2 separate regions of the Homo sapiens genome follow, and region 1 is linked to region 2. The links are contacts of gene promoters, found by promoter capture Hi-C in human tissues and cell types (Jung and others, 2019). All regions are on one chromosome and are shown on one strand. The core of a region is centred on a gene start or on the middle of the fragment in contact, and the rest is flanking DNA. Distances in the headings are between cores, read along the strand shown. Region 1 overlaps TGM6 (transglutaminase 6). Region 2 holds the start of PDYN (prodynorphin).

Region 1 (4,881 bases), core at 1,733-4,232, 430 kb before region 2:
AGACCACGGTTCTCCAAGTGTGGTCCTGGGACCAGCAGCATCAGCGTCACCTGGGAACTTGTTAGAGATGTAAATTCTCAGTCTCCAGCATGAAGAACCATCATATGCCACCATATGATACACATGAGCAGAGCTTTGGGCATCAGCTCAGATCCTGGGAGAAAGGAGGAGAAAAGTAGCCCTTTAAAATGTTTGCATCAGGGCTTTTTGAAGTTCTCTGACTCATAGACACCACTAACAATCTAATAAAAGCTGAGACCCCTTTCCCTAGAACAATGGTTCTCAATAGCACCGTCACTCAGCTGGGCTAACTGACATCTGCAGAATATTTCATCCAACAACAGCAGGATACGCATTCTTCTCAATCTTACACGGAGCACTCACCAAAAAGGATCACATTCTGTGGCATAAATGACACATTAACAAGTTTAAAATAATAGAAATTATGCAATATATGCCCCCAGAACACAATGAAATCAAACTGGAAATCAATGACAGAAAGACAGCTGAAAAATCTAAAATACCTAGGGATTAAACAACACACTTCTAGAAGAACACATGGGACAAAGAAGAAGTCTTAAGAGAAATTTAAAAGTATTTCGAAGTAAATGAAAATGAAACTACAACTTATCAAAATTTGTGGGCACGTGCCTGTAGTCTCAGCTACTTGGGAGGCTGAGGAGGGAGAATCACCTGAGCCTGGGAAGTTGAGGCTACAGTGAGCCATGATTGTGCCACTGCACTCCAGCCTGGGTGACAGAACGAGACTCTGTCTGAAAAGCAAAACAAAACAAACAAACAAACACCCCTCCCCCAACACACAAACTTGTAGGTTGCAGCAAAAGCAGTGCTTAGAGAGAAGTCTATAATATTCAATACATATGATAGAAAAGAAGAAGGATCTAAATCCAATAATCTAAACTTCTGCTTTAGGAAACTATAAAAAGGAGAACACGTTAAACTCATCTTAAGCAGAAGAAAAGAAATAATAAAAATTAGAGCAGAAATCAGTAAAATTGAAAATCAGAGATCAATAGAGAAAATCACCAAAACCAAAAGCTGGTTCTTTGAAAAGATCAGTAAAGTCAATAAGCCTCTAGCAAGGCTAACTCAGAAAAAAAAGAGAGAAGGCACAAGTTACTAATATGATAAATGCAAGAGAGGACATCTCTACAGATTCCATGGACATTAAAAGGATAGTAAAGGTAACAAGTTTGGGGAGTTAGGAAAAAAACAGAGAGTAAAGGAATATTATGAACAACTTTATGCCCACAGGTTTGATAATCCAGATAAAAGGGACCAGTTCTTGAAAGAAAAAAATCTGCTAAAATTCACATAAGAAGAAACAGACAACATGAATAGGCCTATATCTACTAAAAAATGGAATCAGTACTTAATAACCTTCCAAACCAGAACACATTAATCCCAGATGGGTTCACTGGTGAATTATACCAAGAATTTAAGAAAAAAAAATTATAGCAATTCTCTACAATCTCTTCCAGAAAATGGAAGCAGAGAAATACTTCCTGATTCATTCTATGAGGCCAGCATTACCTTAATGCCAAAAACCAGACAAAGACATTGCAAGAAAAACAAAACTACAGACCAATATGAACATAGATGCAAAAATTCCCACAAAATATTGGTAAATTGAATTAACAATGTATAAAAAATTACATGCTATGATCAAGTGGGATTTATTCTAGGCATGTAAGGCTGGGTCAATATTAAAGGTCAATTAATATAGTCCATCAAATCAACAGGAAAAAATAACATGATCATATCAATAGATGCAGAAAAAGAATTTGATAAAATCCAACACCCATTCCTGATAAAGCTCTCAGCAAACTAGGAATAGAGGAGGAATTTACTCAACTTGATAAAGAACATCTACAAAAAACCTACAGCAAACATTGTCCTTATTGGTGACAAACTGGAAGCTTTCCCATGATGATTAGGAACAAGGCAAGGATGTCCCCTCTTACTATTCCTTTTCAACATCATATTGGAAGTCTTTGCTAATGCAATAAGATAAAACAAGGAAATAAAATGTATACAGATTGGGAAGGAAGAAATAAAACAGTCTTTGTTCACAAATGATATAATTGTTTATGTAGAAAATCCAAAAGAATTGTCAACAACAACAAACAAAAAATCCTGGAACTTATGAGTGGTAATAGCAAGGTTACAGGGTATAAGATTACTAATATACAGAAGTCAATCATTTTCCTATATACCAGCAATGAACAATTGGAAATTAAAATTAAAAACATAATACCACTTATGTTAGCACCACCAAAAATGGAACACTTAGGCATTAATTTAACAAAATATGTACAAGATCTACACAAGAAGAACTGTAAAACTCTGATGAAAGAAATCAAAAAACTAAATAAATGGAGAGATATTCCATGTTCATGGATAGAAAGGCTCAATATTGTCAAAATGTCAATTTTTCCTAGCTTGATCTATAGATTCAATGCAATCTGAAGAAGTTATTTTGTGGATATTGACAAACTGATTCCAAACTTTATGTGTGGGTGGGAGGCAGGAATGAAGAGAAGTTGGATAATGGGTACAAGATAGTTAGAAAGAATAAGTTCTAATATTTCATAACACAGTAGGGAAATTATAGTTAATAATGATTTATGGTACCTTTCTAAATAGCTAGAATAAATTGTATAGTTTCGAACACGAAGAAAAGATACAGATAAATGTATAAGGTGATGGATATCCCAATTACCCTGATTCGATTGTTACACATTCTATACATGTATCAAAATATGTGTACCCACAAAATATGTATTACTAATATATATCAATTAAGATTTTTTTAAAGAACCATGACATAAAAAAGTTTATGTCAAGAGGCAAAAGACCCAGAGTAGTCAGTACAATTGTACAATTGTACATTATTGAAGGAGAGGAACAAAGTTAGAGGACTGGCACTACCTGACTTCAGGTACCTTTAAGATTTACTATAAAGGTACAGTCATCAAGACAGTGTGGTATTAGTGAAAGAATGGACAAAGACAGGCATACCTTATTTTACTGTGCTTCATTTTATTGTACTTTGCAGATATTGCATTTTTTACAAATTGAAGTTTTGTGGCAACCCTGAGTCAGGCAACTCTATAAGAGCCATTTTTCCAAGAGCATGTGTTTGCTTCTATGATCAGTGATCTTTTTTTTTTTTTCTTTAAGACAAGGTCTTGCTCTGTCACCCAGGCTGTAAGTGCAGTGGTGTGATCATAGCTCACTGCAAACTTCCAGCTCTTGGGCTCAAGCAATCCTCCTGCCTCAGCCTCCAGGTAGCTAGGACTATGGGAGCATGCCACCACACCCAGCAGGTATTTTTTATTTTAATTTTTTGTAGAGATGGGGTATTGCTGTGTTGCCCAAGCTGGTCTCAAACTCCTAGGTTCAAGCAGTTCTCTCACTTTGGCCTCCAAAAGTGAATGGGATTGGGATTACATATATGAGCCCCTGTGCCCAGCCCTTGATCAGTGATCTTTGAGGCTACTATTGTAACTGTTTGTTAGCACCACAAACCATGCCCTGTAAGATGTTGAACTTAATTAAAAAATGTCATGTGAGTTCTGACTGCTCCACCGACTGGCCATTTCCCTATCTCTCTCCCTGTCCTTGGGCCTTCCTATTCCCGGATACACAATAATATTGAAATTAGGCCAATTAATAAACCTACAATGGCCTCTAGGTGTTCAAGTTAATGAGAGTTACATGTCTCTCACTTTAAGTCAAAAGCTAGAAATGATTAAGCTTAGTGAGGAAGGCACATAGAAAGCCAAGATGGGCCAAAAGCTAGGCCTCTTGTGCCAAACAGCAAGGTTTTGAATGCAAAGGGAAAGTTCTTGAAGGAAATTAAAAGTGCTACTCTTGAAGGAAACTAAAAGTGACATAGGAATGATAAGAAAGCAAAATAGCCTTATTGCTAATATGGAGAAAGTTTTAGTGATCTCCATATAAGATCACACCAGCCATAACATTCCATTAAGCCAAAGCCTAATCCAGAGCAAGGCCCTGATTCTCTTCAATTCTATAAGGATTGAGAGATGTTAGGAAGCTACAGAAGACAAGTTTGAAGCTAGCACAGGTTGGTTCATAAGGTTTAAGGAAAGACGCCATCTCTATAACATAAAAGTGCAAGCTGAAGCAACAAGTGCTGATGTAGAAGCAACAGCAAGTTATGCAGAGACTCTAGCTAAGATCATTGGTGAAGATGGCTACATAAAACAACACATTTTCAATGTAGAAAAAATAGCTTTATATTGGAAGAAGATGCCATCTAGGACTTTCATAGCGGGACAGAAGTCAATGCCTGGCTTCAAAGTTTCAAAGGAGAGGCTGACTCTGTGCATTAAGGAGCTAATGCAGCTGGTGACTTTAAGTTGAAGCCAATGCTCATTTAAATTTCTAAATCCTAGGGCCCTTAAGAATTATGCTAAATCTACTATGCCTGTGGTCCATAAAGGAACAACGAAGCCAGGATGATAGCACATCTGTTTATAGCATGGTTTACTGAATATTTTAGGCCAACTGTTGAGACCTACTGATCAGAAAAGAAGATTCTTGTCAAAGTATTACTGCTCATTGACAATGCACCTAGTCACTCAAGAACTCTGATGGAGGTGTACAATGAGATTAATGTTATTTTCATGCCTGTTAACATTCATTCTGCAGACCATGAATCAATGAGTAATTTTAACTTTCAAGTCTTTTTATTTAAGAAATACATTTCATAAAGCCATAGCTGCCATAGATAGTGATTCCTCTAATGGATCTGGGCAAAGTCAATTGAAAACCTTCTGGAAAAGATTCACCATTCTAGACACCATTAAGTATATTCATGATTCATGGGAG
Region 2 (5,322 bases), core at 131-2,630:
AGGGTAGATGGACCTGACTTTAGGTTCTAGCTGGATGACTTACTTGCTGTGTGTCTCTAGGAACTTGGAGGATAGATGGACCTGACTTTAGGTTCTAGCTGGATGACTTACTTGCTGTGTGTCTCTAGGAAAGTTTCTCAGCTCTCAAACCTCTGTTTTCTCATCTGCAAGATGGGGATAATATTAACCAACTGGCTAGGTCATGAGGATTAAATCTGACAACTCTACCTAACCGCCTGGTGCAGCCAGGTGCCCACAAAATGGGCGGCCCTGCCAGACTTCTGAAATAGTTGTGCCTCCCACCACAAACTGTCTGCTATTGACTGAGAAGAGAAGCATGTTCTCTTCCAAACTCAAAGACCCTTATGTTCTGGAAGATCTCTGTAGCAATGAAGAGTGCCACCTTCAAGCTGCTGCTGGTCCAGGCCAAGGGTATATTGAGGTGGGTCCATCCCTCACCCAGAGTGTGTGCTGAGGCATATTGCAGCCCATATTTTGAGGGGTTTTTCCTGCTATTCATTTTGTGTTGCCGCCAGAGAAAACTAAACTGCAGCTCCTGGCTGTCGGGGAAGAGCTGTGCTTCTGCCAGGGCTAGTGTGCCTGGCACCAGCTCAGGCATGTACCAGAGCCGAATGCCGTTTGCAGGCAAATGTACACACAAAAAGATTCCAGCACACGCGTGCACCAGCCAACACAGAGTTGCCACGGCACGCAACAGCGGGCCATGCACGTGCCTGCTGACTCGGCTGTCATCTTCCGACTCTCTTCCGTGATCAGAAGACTGTCTCAGCCTCTGTCTGTCTCCACGTCTGTCTGTCTGTGGATCAGTGTGTTTTGAGTCTGACAGTCTACCTGGCTGGTTTCCTTTTTTCTTGCTCTGTCCCTCTCTCCTTGTGTTTCTACCCATCTCCCTATCTCTGCCACTCTCTGTCTCTGTTTTTCTTTCTCTTTCTCCCCTCCTTTGTATCACTCCCTAGGTCCGACATTGCCTCTTTCTCGATTTCCGATTCTCTCTGAGTCTCTCTCTCTCTCTCTCTTTCTCTAACTCTTCTGTCTCTGTCCTTCCCTGTCTTCTTTTTCCTGTGACACTCTCCTGGAAACGCATCAAAAACTGAAGTGGCCGGATTTCAAGTGACAAACAGCACTACACCCAGAATCCGCCCCCTCCCCAACACGGCTGCCTTCCTCCTCCACATCCCTGTCACGAAGAGAAGCCTATTGTGTCAGGCCCAGGGAGTTCGAGTTGAAGGGCCTGGGGGTCTGTGCTCTGACTGCTCTCAGCCACTTCCCCATTGGCTCCCAGCAGCCTGTGCTCAGCAAGGGCTGAGCGACAGGGGAGGCTCTCGTCCATAAAAGGGGGGAAGAGGCACCAGAACTGCCATTTGAAGGGGCTTTGGTGGTGTTCACAGCTGCCTCTTTGGCACCTCCTCCCAAGCCGGAGTCAAGGAGGCCCCTGAGCCTTGGACCAGCCACTGCCACCTCCGACCTGCTCGGCCAGAAGCTGCCCAGGGACAAAGCAGAGTGCAGGTAACATCCAGAGGGGGCACTGGAATTCTATCGCTTGGTTTTATTTGCTTATTCCTGGTCCTCTGGACCTAGAGATGGTGGGAGCTCGGGCTGGGGATTTTAGGTTTGGGTCTGATTATCTAGCAAAGGTGGTTACAGTTAGGAGGCTAGTTCACAAAAGCCAGACCAGTGAGAGACTGCTCTTTGGACTCTCCCTTTCTGCACAGTCCTGGCTTAAACAGGTGGTAAGCTCTCTCCCAAGAGGACCACCCTTTGGCTTTAGCTCCAGGGTCTCCTTCTTGCAGTCTCCCACACAGCAGTTCCCATGCCATTCCCAGGGTCTGGGGAAAATGGGACACCCTGGATGGGAGAAGTGAGAGGTTTCACTAATCAGGGTGATTTTAAAGGTCAATGAGTCTCACTGGACTTAGAGAACAATGGCTTGAGGACATTAATGAGATCCAAGGCTCTGGCATTTATCACATAACATGTACATCAATGTACGGCCAGGTTCGGCCTTTTCATTCTTTTCGGATTGTGTTTAATTGCTGACAGGGTGCTGGTTTGAGCGGCTTCTTTTGATGGAATTTGATACAGGTTGAAGTTTGGGGATGTTTTGTTGGAAGGGAATGGGAAAAGGGAGTGACAACAAGCCAGGAGGCCCAGGCTTAGCAGGCATTTTCTTGTCCATTTTACTTGGAAAGGACTTGTTGCTCTCCTATTAACTACAGCCAGAGGAGTCTAAGGCCAGGAGGAGGCTCAAAGGGAAAGCCATTTGCTCACTGGTCCAGAGACCCATATTCAGAAAAGTACCAAGTCTCAAAGTTTGATTCTAGCAAAAAGCTGATGAGTTTCAGGAAAAAAAAAAAAAAAAAAAAAGCCTGCTGACTACTCCAAGGTTGAAGAGTAAATTCTGCAACTGCTTACTTTTTCCTGGGTATCAAGAATCCCTCCAAGCTCTACAAACATTACTTAATTAAGTCTCCAGTCTTCCCAGGGGAAACAAGCTCTTTCGATTATTGGATCTGATTTCAATTCCCCTCCCACAGACTGAAAGTCTTCATTATCATCTTTCTTCCAAGGGTTGCTGAAATATACAAGGCTTGCCTTTCTAATTTGACAGGCATCCCAGTCGAGATCCATTGCAAAGCATTGCAGAATGTCGATCCTCTTCTGTTCTTTCTCACCCCAGGCCTCACTCCCACCCCTCTGTGGCACCTTCCTTCTCTTTTCCCCTCCTCTTCTCCCCCCAGTCCCACCACACCTTGCCTTTGTTCTATTTTTGCAGGTCATTTATCTTCAGGCTTTGAGATCTGCGTGGGGGGAGCTGTTGCAGCAGCCCAAGCCGGTGAGTTATGCTGCCTGGGGGTGGTTTGCGTTCACTGACGGGATCTCAAGCCCACTGCTTTGCCCCAGCTGAGCTAGAGGTGTGATAGGTGGCAGGCAAACCCTATGCCTCTGTTGGCAGCTGGGAGGGGGATGTCACACTGGTTCCCAAGGCTATGTGGCGGAAGGCAGCACATTTTAAGGGAGCAGGCAAAGGGATCAGCTCTGGGGCTATTTGAGAGATTTGCGATCTTAAAACACGTGGAAGGAGTTAAGGTTTCTTGAAGTAACTCCTGGGAGGCAGGAATTTTCCATCTGTCATCTACACGTGTGTCTCACAACACCTGAAACAGTGCTGGGCTGAAATCCCAGATCCTACCACTCACTTACTGTGTGACTTTGGAACAGTAGAAGTCCCTCTCTGAGTCATACTTTCTTTACCTGTATGATGAGAATAATAATAATATTCACCTCCTAAGGTTATTGCAAGTCTCCAATGGGATATAGCAAAATGCCTGGCATTCAGTAGGTGCTCAATAAATACTGGCATGACTGCTCAGATTTTCACTGTTCCGAAGTGGTGAGGTTGGACCTTTCTCTCCATCGATTATCATATCGCTGATCATCCCACTCCATCATGCTGTGTGCTATGTCCAGGAGATATGATCTAATGTCTAATATTTTCATTTGAGGGGCTGGTGCTCCTTTCCCCTCCCCATCCCAGCAGAAGACTTTTTATTTCATCTGCTGCATCAGGATCATGAAGTCTCTTTTTGATCGATACTCCCTAAATCCACCTCCCACTACCCACCTCCTTGGGTCATTCCTGCACAATTGTCGTATTTATTAGATCTCTTCCATCATTGTAAGAGAGATCAATAGTTACTGGTTCGATTTCAATGCATGCCTGACAAAGTGTGGTTACACAGCTGATTTCTCTCACTGTATTCACTCATCTCAGCCCATGAATGTTGGCTAATCTTGCTGGGTCTGACAAAGTGATAAACCTGTTTCACTGAGACAGAGCTGGCCACTGTGGTAGGCAGTGAACATCGGCTGGAGACACCCAGGTAAGCCCCAGGATCAGACCCTCGAAATGGAGTGGGGTCTGTTAGTGCTGTGAAGCGCAGCCTCATCAGTCCCTCCCAGCCTGGATCCAGACTGATGCTCCTGGCAGGAGGACGATGGCCTAGGTCCATGAGGCACATGGCTTGGCTCAGGGGGCTCCTCCGAGTCCATCCAGGTCATCCCACTGGCCAGAGCGGCTGGCCACAAGCCGCAGACATATGCACCGAGGCAATTTGTTGATGCATTGGCTTGAACTGCCATTTGGTCCCTGTCCTATTCCTGGACGATTTGATTTAACTTGACAGCGGTTTACTGAGCAGTTATTATGTGGCAGGGTCTCTTGCCCACTGGTCCCTAGGAACAAAGGGCAGACTCAGAGAGCAGCAGGAGGGAGAGAATTGGTGTTTGTGATTCACACGGTATGTCAGCATCCTGAATCAAAATCTACTCTCCCTCCCCACTTCTCTCTCTCTTATTGTGTTCACTTCCCTTCCCTTTTTTCCCTCTTCTTCCCCTCCTCCTCACCCCCTTCCCTTCTATTCCCATTTGTCCTCTCCCCATCTCTATGTCTCATCTTATTTTTTCTTCCCATATGGTCCTCCACCTCTCTCTGCTTTTTCTCGGTGTCTCGGTCTCTTTTTCTGTGTGTGCAGTTCTCACCTCTGCCATTCTTTTGGGCCCCTGTCTTTTTCTCTGTGTCTATATCTCTAACTCTCTCTTTTTACATCTCTCTCTCTATGTCTCTTCATCTCCATATCTCTCTAGCTTATCCTCTTTTTGCCTTTCTCCCCATCCCTTAATTGCACCAGATAACAAAAAGGGTGGCGGTTCCATCCAAACCTTGCTCTTGAAAAACGTTCTTTTAAATATGCAGTGAATGATCCCACCAGGACCACTGCCTGCAAGGCCGTCTTTCCCTCTGGTCTCTGCACAGCAAATGCAGCCGACCACCAAACGGGACCCTCATCCGATTCTGTGCTTTGATCTTTGCCAGGCTAAAGTGTGGGTTTACTTTCTGTTCAGAACCCGAGCCTCCTTCCCATTGATCATTCGTCTTTCGTTACGATGCTAACACCTAACAAGGGGCACCGCTTTTCCAGGTTCAGGGGCTCCCTTTGCCAACCACCTGGAGACCCACAAGGGTGAACTTTACACTTTCGAGTGTGGGGCAAAAGCTTCTGAAATGGTTTCAACGTCAGGAATGTGAGAGTTTGGGAGGTTATCCGAAAGACACTCGATACATATTTAGGCCTCAGGATGGTTTGTGGCGTGGTCAGCAGACTGACTCTGAAATCTTATTCTGCTGTTTCCTTGCTTCTTGGTCTTGGCCCAGTCTTTTAGACTCTGAGCCTCTGTTTTCCCCATCTGGAAATGGAACTAATAGTTCCCAACCCACTGGATTCTCTTCAAGAGAAGAGAGAA

What was found. Contacts are between HindIII fragments. The study calls those that stand out against the background at their distance.
Region 1: a fragment that was not itself captured here is called in contact with the fragment with the promoter of PDYN in region 2 in 1 of the 25 tissues and cell types used here (dorsolateral prefrontal cortex).

The regions. Positions count from the first base shown.
Region 1 is chr20:2,423,669-2,428,549 of GRCh38, reverse strand. All of the region lies in intron 10 of TGM6 (transglutaminase 6), which reads right to left. Among named protein-coding and RNA genes, the nearest start is that of SNORD119, 37 kb to the left of the region's middle. The HindIII fragment of the contact is 5,615 bases long and covers 175-4,881 here.
Region 2 is chr20:1,990,116-1,995,437 of GRCh38, reverse strand. It overlaps PDYN (prodynorphin), which reads left to right and starts at 1,380. Exons shown (of 4, transcript NM_024411.5): 1 at 1,380-1,527; 2 at 2,795-2,854. The region is part of intron 3 of PDYN-AS1 (PDYN antisense RNA 1); the gene reads right to left. RefSeq lists an enhancer at 1,010-1,840. The HindIII fragment of the contact is 29,966 bases long and covers 1-5,322 here.